Linked DNA regions of Homo sapiens: regions 1, 3, 4, 5 and 6 are each linked to region 2. The links are contacts of gene promoters, found by promoter capture Hi-C in human tissues and cell types (Jung and others, 2019). All regions are on one chromosome and are shown on one strand. The core of a region is centred on a gene start or on the middle of the fragment in contact, and the rest is flanking DNA. Distances in the headings are between cores, read along the strand shown.

Evidence for each region. The method cuts DNA at HindIII sites, captures the fragments that hold promoters and counts their contacts. A contact is called where the count stands out against the background at its distance.
Region 1: a fragment that was not itself captured here is called in contact with the fragment with the promoter of TUBG2 in region 2 in 1 of the 25 tissues and cell types used here (liver).
Region 3: a contact is called between a fragment that was not itself captured here and the fragment with the promoter of TUBG2 in region 2, in 1 of the 25 tissues and cell types used here (aorta).
Region 4: a contact is called between a fragment that was not itself captured here and the fragment with the promoter of TUBG2 in region 2, in 1 of the 25 tissues and cell types used here (aorta).
Region 5: the fragment with the promoter of AARSD1 here is called in contact with the fragment with the promoter of TUBG2 in region 2 in 1 of the 25 tissues and cell types used here (adrenal gland).
Region 6: a fragment that was not itself captured here is called in contact with the fragment with the promoter of TUBG2 in region 2 in 5 of the 25 tissues and cell types used here (dorsolateral prefrontal cortex, liver, lymphoblastoid cells and 2 more).

What each region holds. Positions count from the first base shown.
Region 1 is chr17:42,337,837-42,340,791 of GRCh38, reverse strand. STAT3 (signal transducer and activator of transcription 3) reads left to right here. Exons shown (of 24, transcript NM_139276.3): 5 at 1,383-1,478; 6 at 1,980-2,061; 7 at 2,935-2,955. Among named protein-coding and RNA genes, the nearest start is that of STAT3, 49 kb to the left of the region's middle. RefSeq lists a silencer at 2,939-2,955. The HindIII fragment of the contact is 7,087 bases long and covers 1-2,955 here.
Region 2 is chr17:42,657,962-42,660,791 of GRCh38, reverse strand. It overlaps TUBG2 (tubulin gamma 2), which reads right to left and starts at 1,508. Exons shown (of 11, transcript NM_016437.3): 1 at 1,240-1,508; 2 at 846-958; 3 at 476-643; 4 at 85-153. The coding sequence starts at 1,288. RefSeq lists enhancers at 1,292-1,361, 1,412-1,481, 1,492-1,551, 909-1,676. The HindIII fragment of the contact is 23,957 bases long and covers 1-2,830 here.
Region 3 is chr17:42,304,603-42,307,461 of GRCh38, reverse strand. It overlaps STAT5A (signal transducer and activator of transcription 5A), which reads right to left. Exons shown (of 19, transcript NM_001288718.2): 11 at 2,810-2,859; 12 at 1,760-1,852; 13 at 1,015-1,221; 14 at 1-60. Among named protein-coding and RNA genes, the nearest start is that of STAT5A, 18 kb to the right of the region's middle. The HindIII fragment of the contact is 6,096 bases long and covers 1-2,859 here.
Region 4 is chr17:43,013,473-43,016,176 of GRCh38, reverse strand. It overlaps IFI35 (interferon induced protein 35), which reads right to left. Exons shown (of 7, transcript NM_001330230.2): 5 at 2,515-2,701; 6 at 2,295-2,401; 7 at 1,721-2,069. The coding sequence ends at 1,878. It overlaps VAT1 (vesicle amine transport 1), which reads left to right. Exons shown (of 6, transcript NM_006373.4): 6 at 33-1,570. The coding sequence ends at 116. Among named protein-coding and RNA genes, the nearest start is that of VAT1, 7.6 kb to the left of the region's middle. The HindIII fragment of the contact is 4,481 bases long and covers 1-2,704 here.
Region 5 is chr17:42,962,900-42,965,703 of GRCh38, reverse strand. It overlaps AARSD1 (alanyl-tRNA synthetase domain containing 1), which reads left to right and starts at 1,250. Exons shown (of 12, transcript NM_001261434.2): 1 at 1,250-1,302; 2 at 1,467-1,598. The coding sequence starts at 1,264. It overlaps PTGES3L-AARSD1 (PTGES3L-AARSD1 readthrough), which reads left to right. Exons shown (of 17, transcript NM_001136042.2): 7 at 1,467-1,598. The HindIII fragment of the contact is 19,831 bases long and covers 1-2,804 here.
Region 6 is chr17:42,946,622-42,949,337 of GRCh38, reverse strand. No RefSeq gene overlaps it. Among named protein-coding and RNA genes, the nearest start is that of AARSD1, 16 kb to the left of the region's middle. The HindIII fragment of the contact is 8,985 bases long and covers 1-2,716 here.

The DNA.
Region 1 (2,955 bases), core at 456-2,955, 320 kb after region 2:
ACACAGAGTCTTTCTCTCCATCTTACCAATCAGATGAGTCACTGTCACTGTGGGAAGAAGTAGGGGCATGGGTCACCTTCCCAAAACTTCTAAGAAGTTTGTATTCTGTGGGCTTGGATAGGGACCATGGGAAAGGAAGAGAATGGTTGCCCATAAAACTGGCTGTAGTGTGGCCTCAAACTTCTGGACTTAAATGATCCTCCCACCTCAGCCTCCCAAGTAGCTAGAACTACAGGTATATGCCACCATGCCCAGCTAGTTAAAAAAAAATTTTTTTTTTTTTTTGGTTGAGATGAGGTCTCTTTCTATGTTCCCTGGGCCGGTCTCAAACTCCCAGCCTCAAGTGATCCTCCTGCCTTGGTTTCCCAAAGTGCTAGGATTATAGGTGGGAGCTACCATGCCTAGCCCAAGCCTGTAATTTTTTTTTTTTTTTTTTGAGATGGAGTTTCACTTTTGTTGCTCAGGCTGGAGTGCATGGCGCAGTCTTGGCTCACCACAACCTCCACCTCCCGGGTTCAGGCGATTCTCCTTCCTCAGCCTCCCGAGTAGCTGGGATTACAGGCATGCACCACCAAGCTCAGCTAACTTTGTATTTTTAGTAGAGATGGGTTTCTCCGTGTCGGTCAGGCTGGTCTCAAACTCCTGACCTCAGGTAATCTGCCCACCTTGGCCTCCCAAAGTGCTGGGATTACAGGCATCAGCCACCGCACCTGGCACGAACCTGTAATTTTTAAGTTTCATATGCTATTTATTTTTTGTTATTTCTTTAATTCATTCATTCATTTATTCATTCGAGATGGGGCCTCACTATGTTGACTAGGCTAGTTTTGAACTCCTGGCCTCAAGCAGTCCTCCCACTTCAGCCTTCCCAAGTGCTGATATTATAGGTGTGAGCTGCTACATCCAGCCTTCTTTCTTCTTTTTCTTTTTCCATGTGCTATTTGACATTTTCCAAGGTACCAGCCTCCCCTTCTCCCCAAGATAATATCTTTTAATATGGAATTTCATCCCTAGGGCAGGACTTTTTTTTTATTATCCCTCAGAAATATACTGGACACCACGTTTAAGTAGACATCCAACATCTGCTGTCATAAATTGTTTTGAATTTTTTGACATACTTGCCCATGAGGTTTTTGAAGGCATAGACCATGTCTTAGCTGAACATGTGGTCTCTTAGTGCCATAAAGGGGGTTTATGGTATGACCTGTGTAGTGTCACCTGTGTAGTGACAGCACCACTGCCTCTGTTTCCCTTCCTCTTGTGATGGCAGCAGCGTCTCAAGCCAAACAAGAAGGGTAGTTAGGGTGGGATGGAAGCTGGGTAGAGGTATTCCTCTCCCCATAGTTCTGTGTTCACATGTGCATTGACCTCCTTTTTGGCAGCAAGGGGGCCAGGCCAACCACCCCACAGCAGCCGTGGTGACGGAGAAGCAGCAGATGCTGGAGCAGCACCTTCAGGATGTCCGGAAGAGAGTGCAGGTGATGCAAGTTACAAGCCTCGGGCAGGGAGCTTTCATTAATTTTTTTTTTTTTTTTTGAGACAGGGTCTTGCTCTGCCACTCAGGCTGGGCTGCAGTGGCATGATCACAGCTCACTGCAGCCTCGACCTCTCAGGCCCAAGCGATCCTCCTACCTCATCCTCCCAAGTAGCCGGGACCACAGGCATGCACCACCACGCCCAGCTAATTAAAAAAAAAAAATTTGTAGAGATGGGGGTCTCCCTGTGTTGTCCAGGCTGATCATGAACTCCTGGGCTCAAGTGATCCTCCCAACTCAGCCTCTCAAAGTGCTGGCATTACAGGCGTGAGCCACTGCACCTGGCCAACAGGGAGCCTTCTCTTGGGGATACTGCCTGCAGGTCCTGCATGTATCTTTTTTGAGGTTTTGGCTTCATTTGAATTCTCCTCAGAAACTTTATATTTTCTGTTCCCAAGGAAATCTTTCTTTACTTCTGTTTTTTTGTTTGCTTATTTTAAACAGGATCTAGAACAGAAAATGAAAGTGGTAGAGAATCTCCAGGATGACTTTGATTTCAACTATAAAACCCTCAAGAGTCAAGGAGGCAAGTGAATATTAGAGATGTTAAAATCTCTAGAAAGTGAGTTTGTGTTGTTGAGTTGAAAGACTCATTTGTCTTAACTCTGTTTAGATCTTAAGGCGGGCGGGGCGCAAGGGAGGTACGGGTCCTCAAAGGAGCCTGGTCATTAAGGACAGGAGTATTCCCTCAGGTCCAGGAGTATTCCCTCAGGTCCAGGAGTATTCCCTCAGGTCAAGGAGTATTCCCTCAGGTCAAGGAGTATTCCCTCAGGTCCAGGAGTATTCCCTCAGGTCCAGGAGTATTCCCTCAGGTCCAGGAGTATTCCCTCAGGTCCAGGAGTATTCCCTCAGGTCCAGGAGTATTCCCTCAGGTCAAGGAGTATTCCCTCAGGTCCAGGAGTATTCCCTCAGGTCCAGGAGTATTCCCTCAGGTCCAGGAGTATTCCCTCAGGTCCAGGAGTATTCCCTCAGGTCCAGGAGTATTCCCTCAGGTCAAGGAGTATTCCCTCAGGTCCAGGAGTATTCCCTCAGGTCCAGGAGTATTCCCTCAGGTCCAGGAGTATTCCCTCAGGTCAAGGAGTATTCCCTCAGGTCCAGGAGTATTCCCTCAGGTCCAGGAGTATTCCCTCAGGTCCAGGAGTATTCCCTCAGGTCCAGGAGTATTCCCTCAGGTCCAGGAGTATTCCCTCAGGTCCAGGAGTATTCCCTCAGGTCCAGGAGTATTCCCTCAGGTCCAGGAGTATTCCCTCAGGTCAAGGAGTATTCCCTCAGGTCCAGGAGTATTCCCTCAGGTCCAGGAGTATTCCCTCAGGTCCAGGAGTATTCCCTCAGGTCAAGGAGTATTCCCTCAGGTCAAGGAGTATTCCCTCAGGTCAAGGAGTTTTTTCTTCCTTCGCAGACATGCAAGATCTGAATGGAA
Region 2 (2,830 bases), core at 259-2,758:
ATTACCTATCCAGGCCACCTCCTGACCTGTCCCCAGCACTCTTCGGCCTCCCTGCCCATTCCTTCCCCCACTCCATAACTTCACCTCCAAACTGTCACTTCCATCTGCTTCTCGGTCTATGATGTCAAAGATGTCTTCATGAATTTTCTCACCCTGTATAGAGATATGGAAAGGGAGGGTCAGGCCAAAGGTTCCAGAGAGCATCTTTTCTCAGCACAGCACCAAGAATTCTGTCTACCCTGGAATATTGTTGCCACCCTGAAGCAGAGCCTAGGCTGTAGCCCTCAACCCAGAAGTGCTACTATTGCAAATGATTTGCACAAAATTTGCATAAACCTCTCCCTGGCTGTCCCTCTTGTTCGGGACATCCTTTTGTCTCTTATTTTCTGTCAGTCAGGTCAAATTCCTAGTAGCTTGAGCCTGCCTTGCCTCTGGATGGGAATATCAAAGGTCTCTGGAATGGTCGCTAGGACACCTGGGAGAATCCGCTGGCCCAGTTGTTGCCAGCTCCTCCTCCATGTTCCGACAGGTAGATGTTCTCTGGGTTGTAGAGCTTGGCATAGGGGGAGTTGAGGATGGAGTGGATCACCCGGGGTTCCAAGTCCAGCAGCACGGCCCGGGGGATGTAGTGCTCATCGTCTGCCTGTCAAGGGGAGTCCAGGAGGGGGCCCAATCAGCTAGGGCGGCCCAAGTCCGAAGTCCTCCCAACTCTGGCTCCCTCCGGCCCTCCCTCCTCAAGCCAGCCGCCTGGCCCTACTGCCCAGCGGGGTTCCCAGTACCAGGCCACTCCCTTCCCTTCCGCCCCCTTGGGCCACTGCCGCCCCCGGCCAAGTCGCTGGGGGCACCTGGTAGAAAAAGACGTCCTTGCGGTCAGTGCCCTCGGTGGCGAATTCCTCCACGATGCCCTCGGGGCTGATACCATGCTCGGCGCACAGCTGTTTCCAGAACTCGAACCCAACTGGGGGAGGGGGGAGATGCCCGGGTCTGCTGGAGCCTTAAGGCCTGAGGAGCCCAGTTTTAGTCTCAGAGGCTGACACGATCAGAGGGTGGACCCAAGATGCCTGGGTTTGGTAGCTGCCCCAGCCCCGGGCTGGAGGCGCAGCTCTCGGTCTGGGTTATCCAGAGCAGCAGGGCAGGGGGTTCATGGAAGGGAAAGGGGGACTGGTGGAAGCCAGGCACTTGGGTGGGACCCGAAGGGGCAGAACCAGAGACCGGCGGGGCCGGCGCTCGCTTGCTCACTCTGGTTGCCGCACTGGCCCAGCTGCAGGGTGATGATCTCCCGGGGCATCGCTCTTCAGACGTGGGCGCGCCAGCCCCGGCCTGGCGAGAGTCACGGCTGAGACGAATGCCCGGCAGCCAGGAGCGCAGGACGTGGGGAGCGCGCGCTCTCTTCGCCTCTTGACGCGGATGCTCGGTCTGCGCGTGTGCAGCGCAGGCCTCTCCTCGGCCGGTGGGCCGGGGAGCCCAACCTGGGCATCATTTTCTCCCTCAGCAGTCGCAGCTGGAATTCCGCACAGGCGCAGAGTCAGGCCACGCCCGCTCCTGCCCACCGCTCCGCGCCTGCGCAGTGAGACTCGTTGGGGGTGGCAGGGTCGGAACCTGGATGTGTTGGGGAGGAGAGGAACGGGGGAGGGGAGGAAAGGGGAGAAGCGGCCAGGTGGATGTGCTTGTCCACGTGTAAGGAGTCATCTACCTATATTGGTAGGTGAGGACACTGTCAGCTTTGCTAGATCAAAGGGCTAGAAGCCAACTTTTCTTCGTTTAAATTTCTGTTTTTTAATGGTGTTACAATACATACACATGTATGTTACCTTTTTATTTTTTAGAAGGGTCTCGCTCTGTCGCCCAGGCTGGAGTGCAGTGGCGCGATCATAGCTCACTGTAGCCTTGAACTTCTGGCTTAAGTGATCCTCCCACTTCAGTCTCCCGAGTAGCTGGGACTACAGGCGTGTGCTACCACGCCCAGCTAATTTTTAAATTTTTAAAATGTATTTTTATAGAGATGGGGATCTCACCGTGTTGCCCAAGATGGTCTTAAACTACTGGCCTCAATCAATCCTCCTGCCTTGGCCTCCCAAAATGCTGGGATTACAGGCATGAGCCACCACTCCTGGCCTAAATTTACCATTGTAACCATTTGTAAGTACTGCATACAGTTCTGTGGCACCAAGTACACTCACATTGTTCTGTAACCACCACCACCATTCTTTTCTAGAACTTTCTTATCTTCCCAAACTGAAACTCTATCGCGATTAAACAGTAACTTCCCCTTGACTACTCTAGGCACCTGATATGAGTGGAATTATACAGTATTTGTCTTTTTGGGTCTGGCTTCTTTCACTTAACATAATATCTTCAAGATCCTTCCATTTCGTAGCATGTGTCAGAATTTCCTTCCTTTTTACAACTGAATAATATTCCATTGTATAGATGTACCACATTTTGCATAACCATTCATCCCTCCATGGACATTTGGGTTGCTTCCACCTTTTGGCTATTGTGAATGTTGCTGCTTTGAATGTGAGTGTACAAATATCTGTTCGAGTCCCTGCTTTCAATTATTTTGGATATACACCCAGAGGTAGAATTGCTGGATCATATGGTAATTGTGTTTAATGTTCTGAGGAATCGCCATACGATTTTCCATGGTAGCTGCACCATTTTAAATTCCCACCAGCAATGCACAAGGGTTCAGTTAAATAAATTTTATAGGAGGCCATTGATTTGCACTGAGCTCCTGTGCTTGGCTCAACAGACCAAACCAAAATGGAGTCACTCACGCTAAAGTTCTATGTCACTAAGCAACACTAAGTTGTTTATCAAACCTTCA
Region 3 (2,859 bases), core at 331-2,830, 350 kb after region 2:
CACCTCCATCACCCCGTCAAACCACTGCCAGAAGGTGTAGTTCCAGCCCGGCAAGTTCTCCTGAGGGCCCAGGAACCCCCGAGTCAGGGCTGGTGCCCCAGGTCACAGGTGGCCCAGGAAAGTCAGGGCCCTCCTGCCCCCACCCAGTCTTCTCCCAGTTCTTCACCCCTGCTTGCCACCACACTCCAGCAGACCATAAAGTGACACAGCCCCCAACTTGTACCCTAGGAAAACAGAGAGGAAACTCACTTCTAAGACACAGGGGTCCAAGACCAGCCCAAGGGTGGGAGTAAGAGGTGTAAAGAATAATCTAGGCTGGATGGGGCCTCCAAAGTCATTCCTCCAAAGTCATCCCCTCATTTTACAGGTGGGGAAACTGAGGCACAGAGAATGGATGGGTCTTCAAAAATTAGCAAGGAGAGAGGCAGAAGGAGAGCCAGAGCCACAGGCGTGGTGGCTCACGCCTGTAATCCCAGCACTTTGGGAGGCCGAGGTGGGCGGATCACCTGAGGTCAGGAGTTCGAGACCAGCCTGACCAACATGGTGAAACCCCATCTCTACTAAAAATACAAAAATTAGCCCAGCATGGTGGCAGGCACCTATAATTCCAGCTACTCAGGAGGCTGAGGCACGAGAATCACTTGAACCCGGGAGGCAGAGGTTACAGTAAGCTGAAATCACGCCACTGCACTCCAGCCTGGGTGACAGAATGAGATTCTGTCTCTAAAAAAAAAAAAGAAAATTAGCAAACACATCTAGGCCCAGAACCCAAGGATCCTGACTCCCAGCCCTGGGCCCTCCGTCATCTCGCTCTTGGCTTCACAACTAAGCACAACTCCTATAGCCCCTGCCTGCATTTCTTGAGGCTAGGGGCCCCCATCTCTCCTGGTTGTAGGAGAGAGTGGTTGGGGGTGGAGAGTGGGGTGCTAGCCCCAGGCAGTAACCTGTCTGTGAGGTGGAGGAGCAACAGACCCCGGTGGGCCCTGGTGGGCGGCTGGCAGCTGGGCCCCTCACCCTGTTGAACTGGGACCAGGACACGGACAGGCCACTGTAGTCCTCCAGGTGGCTGCTGCTGTTGTTGAACAGTTTCTGCGCCAGGAACACGAGGTTCTCCTTGGTCAGGCCCCGGTTGCTCTGCACTTCGGCCTTGAATTTCATGTTGAGCGCCTCACACAGCTGCGGCCACAGCACTTTGTCAGGCACGGCAAATGGCACCCTGCCCTGAGAGGGAGACAAGAGAGGGGAAAAGGTAGATTGAGGGAGTTGGAAATATTCACACACACACAAGATACACAGACACCTAGAGACAGAGGAGACTGAGACAGATCCAGAAAGGTGACACAAATGCAAGGGCAGGAAATGCGGCGGCTTTTATATACTAGCTTGCACTTTTTTTCCCAGCCTGCAGGGAAGAAAACCGATGCAGGGGGTGGGGGCATGCAGGGACAGAGATGCAGACCAGGAAACAGAAAACAGAGAGCAAGGACCCAAGCCATCTGCCAAAGGAGGATCCCAGACCAGGATCCAAAGACCAAGCTCACAGTCCTCACAGACCCCAGTCCAGGAACCTGGAACCCAGAGTGCCAAGGCCATGGTGGAAGGCAGGCGCCCAGCACCCCAGCCCTTCTGGCCTCACCTCACCTCTGGGCTGGCCCTGGGGTGAGGAAGGACCACTCAGCAGGGGCCCAAGGGGTGGGGCTGACCCCAGGTGAGTCCTAGGGCCTGGGGGTGCTGGGGTAGGGCTCCCACGGGGACTCACCGGCTCAGCAAAGGCATTGTCCCACAGCACAGTAGCCGTGGCATTGTGGTCCTGGCTGCCGTGGACGATGACAACCACAGGTAGGGACAGAGTCTACAGGAGTCAAAGGAACCCAAGTTGATGGGGCGTGACCACCACGTGCCCTCTGCTTAGGCAACATGCCCAATCTGCTTTATTTTTTTTTATGTATTTTTTTTTTTGATATGGAGTTTCACTCTTGTTGCCCAGGCTGGAGTGCAATGGTGCAATCTCGGCTCACCACAACCTCTGCCTCCCGGGTTCAAGCGATTCTCCTGCCTCAGCTTCCCAAGTAGCTGGGATTACAGGCATGTGTCACCACACCTGGCTAATTTTGTATTTTTAGTAGAGACGGGGTTTCTCCATGTTGGTCAGGTTGATCTCGAACCCCTGACCTCAGGTGATCCACCCTCCTTGGCCTCCCAAAGTGCTGGGATTACAGGCAAGACCCACCACCCATGGCCGCAATCTGCTTTATTTTCTTCGAGACAGGGTCTCGCTCGGTCGCCCAGACTGGAGGGCAGTGGTGCAATCACAGCTCACTGCAGCCTTGACCTCCTGGGCTCAAGTGATCCTCCTGCCTCAGCCTCCAGAATAGCTGGGACTACAGGTGCAGGCCACCATGCCCAACTTTTTTCTTTTTTTTGTAGATACGGGTTCTCACTATGCTGCCCAGGCTAGTCTTGAACTCCTGGACTCAAGCAGTCCTCCCTCTTCTGCCTCCCAAAATGCTGGAATTACAGGTGAGAGCCACCACACCTGGTCCCAACCCACTTTCCTCACCCACAGTTCCAAACACAAGCCCCTCCCAGCAAAATGTAGGCACAAGCAAACAAACAAAAACTACAACCGACTTCTTCTTAGCCCATTGCCTAAATTGTCTGGGTTAGTCCCAGATTATAACCTATCAAACAGGGACCCACAGAGTCAAAGCAGGCTGTCCGATGGCATTGCTGCCAGGAGTCCTGAGGCAGGCCCCTCCACCTCTTGGGTGACCTGGAGCAGTGGGGGCAGGAGGGCTGGGGGTCTCACCTTCACCTGGAACACAAGCTCATTGCTGCCAACACTGAACTGAGACTCAA
Region 4 (2,704 bases), core at 60-2,559, 360 kb before region 2:
CACTGGGAGCCGCATCTTTCCTTCCTCCCCAGGTGGCTGATGCCATGAAACAGATGCAGGAGAAGAAGAATGTGGGCAAGGTCCTCCTGGTTCCAGGGCCAGAGAAGGAGAACTAGGGCAAGTGGCTGTGAGACCCTAGAGACCAGCGAAGGGAGAAGTTGGGAAGCTACGTTCTGTTGGCCACCAGACTTGCATTTCAGCCTCTGTCATAATGCTCTGCCCTCCCTCCCCCGAAGGTCTCTGTGGTGATGACCGCTCTCCCCTGCCCCTCCCCGCTTCCTGACCTCTGAAGAGGTTGGGAAGTGACCATTTGGATGTCTGGGCCCTGCCAAGGCGACAGGGAGGGTCAGAGGGAGGCCGGCTGCTTCCTGCCCCCACCCTTTCCCCGGGCCTGCTGTGCTGCTTTTGTGCCAAGGTTAGCCAGTCCCCCCTGTTGTGTTCCATGTGCTTTCACCTCTGCCTCATCTTTCCTCCCGTCCCTGCCCCGCCACCTCCCCAAAGAATTGAAACGTCAGCTCAGGATATGGGGCCAATCTCTGTGAGTCCAGCATGTACCTGTCTCTCCCTAGTGTCCCTTCAGCCTGGGCTGACCAGTGCCCGCCTCTGGGCTTGACCAGTTCCCAATCTCGTCCTCTGTCCCCAACTTCTTAAGCACAATTGGGCTTCTTCCATCTCCAGGTTTTCTGCCATTCTTAACCAAGGCTGCCTCTTCCAACAGGGCGGGAATCAGACCTACTCCCCTAGGTCACAACTCTGGGAAGGATACAGAGCCCCCACCCTTCACTGAGTTCTCTGGATTTGTTCTCAGTGCCTTAGCAACGAAAACCTGTGCTTGTGTGTGTGTGGCGGCGGGGAGGGAGGATCCTGTTTCCCACCTCCTTCTCCTCCCCTGTACTCCCCAGTGCCTTCCTTGTTCTGGTGGAGCTGGGGTTTCTCTCCTCCCCAGTCCCACAACACTGCCAAAAATCTGTGTATGTGCCATTGGGTGGGGCAGCCCCAAGCCTCCTGGGGAGGCAGGGCAAAAACAGGTGCCCTCATCGTGGTCTGTGCCATGTCCCGTCTCTATGGTGGTTGAGGAGAAAGGCGGGGAAGCTTCCTCAGCCTTGCAGATATGTGTGGCATTTACTAGCCAGAGCTCTGAAAGGCAGTGCTGTCTGTTTCTTGTACTGGGACCAAAGTAAAAATCCAAGCACATTCCCCTTGCAGTTAGGGGAGGCCCTACTGCCTTCTCAAAGCAGAGAGGCAGCTTATCAAACTCAGCCCAAAACTCTGTTTACATGGGTGGGGAGATGGAGCAGGGAAGTACAGAGTGGGATGGTCAGGACCTGGGCCATTGCAACCAAAATGGGGACTTCCTGGGTAGGGAGGTCACTCCCTCTACTCACTGAGCTAGGATTAGGGAGGGTTATTGCCCCAACCATTGCAATGGGAGGTGGAGGGACAGGCTCAGCCTCCTCATTGTCTAAATGAGGCCTAAATGTGTGAAGTGCGATTTCTGCTTTTGTGTACCCCACCACCCCATTACCACAGCTGCCTTTGTGTGTTTGTGTCAATAAAAAGCCAAACCCTGGGTCCTGCTTGTTGCCTCTGAGAGTGGAGGGAAGGTGAGCTCCTGGAAGGCTAGTGCTGCCAGCAGAAGATCTGGGCTGCTTCCTGCCCCCTGCCTCTTTCCATGCCCAAATCACGTTTCCTTTCATGAGTGAAATGAGGAAGAACATCATGGCATGCAGGCTCTTTTTACTGTTCTGGGCAGTGTTTTGCAATGTGTGACCCCTCCGCACTGTTGGTGAACATACAGACCTCCTATATGGGCACCCAAGCCCAGGCCAGTGTGAGAACCTTGGCGGGGGGGTGGGGAGGATGAGAAGGGGAGGCCCCTAGCCTGACTCAGAGGTGAAGACTGCTAGGCCCTGCTGTCCTTGGGGTACGACTGTCAGGGCCTCTACCTCCCCGCCCCCGCGGGTGGGCTTCTGGAAGTGGATCTCCAGGACGTCATGCAGCTCCGGGCCATCCAAGATATCAGGAATGTTGAGCACCAGTACCGAGCGGGGAACTGGCTGCGACCTGATCTGGAAAAGGAGCCAGGAGATGGCAAAGGCTCATGGGAGAAGGGCTGGGGGCTGGGGGTAGGGCAGGCAGTGCCCCATGGGGGTATGAGGTCGGGAGGCCTGGAGAGGCTGATGGTGGGTAGGTAGGTCAGTGGGGTTTGGGGCCTCTGATCCTTCATTGGGCAAGTTCCTGGCAGGCAGACAGGTTACCCAGCCCAGCCCCTGTTCTTCACCCCTCCTGCTTACCTCAGCCTTCTGGATCTCCCCGTTCACATACGGAGAGACTCTCAGAGGGACTTGCTGCCCACCCAGTGGCACTGTGAACTGGCCGATTTGGCACAGACGCTGAGCCACTGTGGGGAGCAAGGAGGGGTGGGCCTTTAGCATCAAGCCCTCTCCTCTCCCTGCACCGTAATCTTGCACACCCTATACCCTCTCCCCTGCAGGAGGCCTGCATAGCCCTCACCTCCATCCCTAGCAAACCCCAGCATGACACTCCCTGGCAGTAGCTCCCGAACGTCCACATCGCCACCTCCGTTCCTAGTCTTGCCAAAGAAGATCTCTAGCTTGTCCAGCAGCTCCTCCTCACTCAGCCTGAGGCTGGCAGGAAATCCAGTGACCAACACCCTCCGGCCACTCAACTGGCTGGACATCTA
Region 5 (2,804 bases), core at 1-2,500, 310 kb before region 2:
GCCCAAACTATTTTAATGTAATGTAATGTAATTTTCTTGAGACGTAGTCTCGCTGGGTTACCCAGGCTGGAGTGCAGTGGTACGATTTCGGCTCACTGCAACCTCCTCCTCTCGGGTTAAAGTGATTCTCCTGCCTCAGCCTCCCGTGTAGCTGGGATTATATAGGCGTGTGCCACCACGCCTGGCTAATGTTTTTGTGTTTTTAGTAGAAACAGGGTTTCACCATGTTGGCCACGCTGGCCAAATTGTTCTTCTTTTTTTTTTTTTTTTTTTTTTTTGAGACGGAGTCTCGCTCTGTCGCCCAGGCTGGAGTGCAATGGTGCGATCTCGGCTCACTGCAAGCTCCGCCTCCCAGGTTCACGCCATTCTCCTGCCTCAGCCTCCGGAGTAGCTGGGACTACAGGCGTCCGCCACCACGCCCGGCTAATTTTTTGTATTTTTAGTAGAGACGGGATTTCACCGCGTTAGTCAGGATGGTCTCGATATCCTGACCTCGTGATCCGCCCGCCTCGGCCTCCCAAAGTGCTGGGATTACAGGCGTGAGTCACCGCGCTCGGCCTTTTTTTTTTTTTTTTTTTTTTTTTTTAATTGAGACGGAGTCTCGCTCTGTCGCCCAGGCTGGAGTGCAGTGGTGCAATCTCTGCTCACTGCAACCCCGCCTCCCGGGTTCCAGCGATTCTCCTGCCTCAGCCTCCCGGGTAGCTGGGATTACAGGCGCCCGCCACCACGCCCGGCTAATTTTTGTATTTTTAGTAGAGACGGAGTTTCGCTATGTTGGCCAGGCTGGTCTCGAACTCCTGGCCTGAGGTGATCCACCCGCCTCGACCTCCCAAAATGCTGGGATTACAGGCGTGAGCCACCTCCCCCAGCTCCTTGCTTTCTATTTCTACTGGGCAGTGCTGCTCAGTAACCATGCCAGTCCCGTCCCCGCCTCTATGCGCTGGGATTCCGCAGCCAGAATACTTACATCCCTGGGGCCCCAAGGGGCTCACTAAACCACGTGCCTTGTCCAGGTCGCGTTTTTTTGTTTTTGTTTGTTTGTTTTTTTCCTCCTGGTCTTGTCCTTTGTAAAGCCTTAGAACAGTCGTTAAACAACCCAGCAAATATGCAATTCGCGTTTTCAGTAAATTTATCCAAACCGCATTCCATTCCTTACCCTCCTGCTTCTGCGCAGACAAGCGCCCTTGATGACGTTTGTCCCACGTCGCTCTCCGTTCGCTCCCAGGCTTCTCTGCGCGTGCGCCTCCTCACACGCCTGCAGGTATGGCGTTCTGGTGTCAGCGTGACAGTTATGCCCGAGAGGTACGGCGTCACGGCGAGGCACTTGAGACTGCCGGGCCGGCAAGGCGGTTTGGGGAAGAGGGCGCCACGTGTAGGGAGTGCCAACATGGCATTCTGTCCTGGTGTGGAGAGGGCTAGGGCTAGGGCTGGGGTCGGGGCTTATTCTCTCATTCCTCTCTGTTCAGTTCACCACCACCGTGGTCTCCTGCTGTCCCGCGGAGCTGCAGACTGAAGGGAGCAACGGCAAGAAAGAAGTGCTGAGCGGTTTCCAAGTGGTGCTGGAAGACACAGTGCTTTTCCCTGAGGGCGGGGGACAGGTACCAAAACGATCTCTTCCCAGGAAGCCCCCAGTTTCTTTGTGCTCAGGCCGAAATGCTCTCCTGCCCCTTTTTTCTCAGCCATAATGAATTCAGATGAGCTTTAGTTTAATTCATTTTGTTATTCATTTAATGAGTATTTATCAGCAATTGCTTATCTAGACATAACATATGCTAGATATTATTCCAGGCTGTAAGGATAACCGGTGAACAACACAGTGCCTTTATATACGTGGAATGTTTATTGAAGACAACTGTGTGTGCTAGGTATAATAAGTAATAAACAAAAACCAAGTAAAGGGAAAGAGAGTGATGGGATGCTTGTCTAGATGAAGGGTAAGTTATTTCAGTAGAGACCTAAACGAAGTGAGGGGGTGAGTCTTTGCAATTATCTAGTGGTGCTGGGGGGCAGAGGGAGTATTCAGGCAGGTAGAATAGCAGGTGCAAAGGCCCCAAGGAAGGAATTAGCTTCGGGTTTTAGGGACTGAAAAAGATGTTCCTGAAGGAGTTCAGGTGAGATAGACGGGTTACAGTAGTACAGCAGAGAGCATATTTATCAGTGCTGTGATGAGGACTAGGTACAACATGAGCGCAAGTGAGGTACATTGTGAAGATGGAAGAGGAGGATAATAACACCAAAGGTGGGCATTATGAGAAAGGCTTTTCTTTCTTTTCTTTTCTTTCTTTCTTTCTTTTTTTTTTTGAGACAGAATCTCTCGCTGTCATCAGGCTGAAGTGCAGTGGCATGATCTCAGCTCTGCAACCTCCGCCTCCTGGGTTCAAGTGATTCTCCTGTCTCAGCCTCCCAAGTAGCCTGACCAACATGATGAAACCTTGTCTCTACTAAAAATATAAAAATTAACCAGGCATACTGGCAGGCCCCTGTAGTCCCAGCTACTCGGGAGGCTGAGGCATGAGAATCACTTGAACCGGGAGGCTGAAGTTGCAGTGAGCCAAGATTGTGCCACTGCACTTCAGCGTGGGGGACAGAACAAGACTCCGTCTCAAAAGAAAAAAAAAAGGTGTATTAAGGTGTGTGGGCAGCGAACCATGCAGGTTATTTTCTTTCTTTTTTATTTTTAAGAGACAGGATCTTGCTATGTCACCCAGGCTGGAGTGCAGTGGCCTGATCTAGCTCACTGCAGCCTCGAACTCCCAGGCTCAAGCAATCCTCCTGTTTTAGCCTCTCCAGTAGTGGGGACTACA
Region 6 (2,716 bases), core at 181-2,680, 290 kb before region 2:
GATGGTTAAGGCCTAGACAGCCAGGATGAAATAACAGAGGAGAAATACAAAAGCTGACATCCAGGGGAGATAACCTGTGGCTGTGGCTGTGGCTGTGTTCAGCTATTTGTTCTTCCGACTCTGAAAGGAACTTTTTTTTTTTTTGGAGATAAGAGTCTTGTTCTGCCACCTAGGCCGGAGTGCAGTGGCATGATTTTGGCTCACTGCAACCTCCGCTTCCTGGGTTCAAGCAATTCTTGTGCCTCAGCCACCCAAGTAGCTGGGATTACAGGTGTGTGCTACCAAAAATTTCCTTCAACCCTGCCACTGAGTTACCCAATTTCTTTCTCCAGAATCAATCACTTAATTTTTTTGTTTTAGATGGAGTTTCGCTCTTGTTGCCCAGGCTGGAGTGCAATGGCGCAGTCTCCGCTCACTGCAACCTCCGCCTCCCGAGTTCAAGCAATTCTCCTGCCTCAGCCTACCGAGTAGCTGGGATTACAGGCATGTGCCACCATGCCCGGCTAATTTTGTATTTTTAGTAGAGATGGGGTTTCACCATGTTGGCCAGGCTGGTCTCGAGCTCCTGACCTCAGGTAATCCGCCGGCCTCGGCCTCCCAAAGTGCTGGGATTACAAGTATGAGCCACCATGCCTGGCCTTTTTTTTTTTTTTTTTTCCAGATATAGTCTCACTCTGTTGCCCAGGCTGGAATGCAGTGGCACAATCATGGCTTACTGCAGTCTCAACCTCCTGGGAACAGGTGATCCTCCCACCTCAGCCCTCTGAGTAGCTGGGACTAGAGGTGTGCACCACCACACCTGGCTAATTTTTTGTATTTTTTCTAGAGACAGTGCTTTGCCGTGTTGCCCACACTAGTCTTGAACTCCTGGGCTCTAGCAATTTGTCCACTTTGGCCTCCCAGTGTTGGGATTACAGGCGTGAGCCACCATGCCCAGCCTGTTACCAATTTCTTATATATCCCTCTGGTAGTATTTTAAAAAATAGATGTACATAAATCTTCCCTCTTTTTAAACATAAATGGTAGCACATTGTATACTCTTCTGCATCTTGCTTTTCTCAGAGTGCCATGTTTTAGATAAAACCATAGTGTAACACTCATGCTATACAAAATGGGTCCATTAGTGGGAGAAAGGGAAATGTTTGCTTCACAGAAGCTTCCTTACTTTTGTAGAAGGACTCAGGCAGGATCTTGAACAGAGACCCATGTGAATTTGTCTCTGTGTGAGATCTCTGTCCCTCTCTGTGTTTGTTTCTTTAGGGTGTGCCTTAGTCTGATCTGACTGCTATAATAACAAAAACTAGGTAGCTTATAAACAACAAAAATGTATTTCTCACAGTGGAGGCTGGGAAGCTGGCAAATTCAGTGTCTGGTGTGAAGGTTCAAATACTGGTTCAGGAATAGCCATCTTTTTGCACCCTTGGTGCAAAGGGTAAGGGGTCTTTCTTGGGCCTTTTTTTTTTTTTTTTTTTTTTGAGACAGATGGAGTTTCACTCTTGTTGCTCAGGCTGAAGTGCAATGGTGCAATCTCAGCTCACTGCAACCTCCACCCCCTAGGTTCAAGTGATTCTCCTGCCTCAGCCTCCCGAGTAGCTGGGATTACAGGCGCCTGCCATCCCACCCAGCTAATATTTTGTATTTTTAGTAGAGATGGGGTTTCACCATGTTGGCCAGGCTGGTCTCGAACTCCTGACCTCAGGTGATCCGCCTGCCTCAGCCTCCCAAAGTGCTGGGATTACAGGCATGAGCCTCCGCACCCAGCCCTCTCGGGCCTCTTTTATAATGCACTAATTTCATTCACGAAGGCTCTGCCCCCGTGACCTAATCACCTGCTAAAGGGCCCACCTCCTGATACCACTTAGGGGGTTAGGATTTCAACATATGAATTTTTAGGGGTACACAAAGATTCAGAACACAGGTGCAACAACAAGAACAGTGACCTGGGAGGCCACTCTTGCTCACTACCACTCAGGTGGGTTCTTGTCACTTAGACCTAGAGCAACCATGTAATTTTAATATCCAGAGTTAGGCAAACCTCATGCCAGAACAACAGTCAGAAACCCAGACGGTGTTAAGGTAGCCTGGATGTCTGGTCCCCCTGCTGAGACTCCCTGAGCTTCAGTTTCTTGACCTGAAAATGGACACATGAACTGGGTGTCCTAAGAAGGAAGGAACCTTATGAAATAATTAAGAAAAGCCATAAACACTTGAGCAAATTATGTGAAAATGGTAATTGGTTGTATAAAGAAAGAGAAAATAAAGCAGCAGTTTTTGAACTGGTGATGTCATTCTTGCCTGTCACTGAGGCCCTAATCCAATGCCCCAGGGAGAGGGGGAGAAGAACAGAGTGTGTTCAGGGGAAGGGGTGGATTGTCTTTTATGAGGTTCACCAGGAAACAAAATGAGTTCATTTATTGGAGTAATCAAGTTTTAGGTACACACACAGGTTATATATTCTGGAATGTTACTATAACCCACTTTACGGCACAGAAATAGTAAGGGGGACTCCTTGGCTTCTAAGGAAATTTTTTTATGTGCGTACCCATAAATTGCTGAAGACAGCTGCTGTAGCTTCCACTAAGGTGATGCATGTAGGTACTAGAACAGATGTTAGTATGAAAGATGAAAGGTATCAGGTGGAAGAGACCCAGAGCAGTAGACAGACTGAATTCAGGGCCGGCGCTGTGGCTCATGCCTGTAATCCCAACACTTTGGG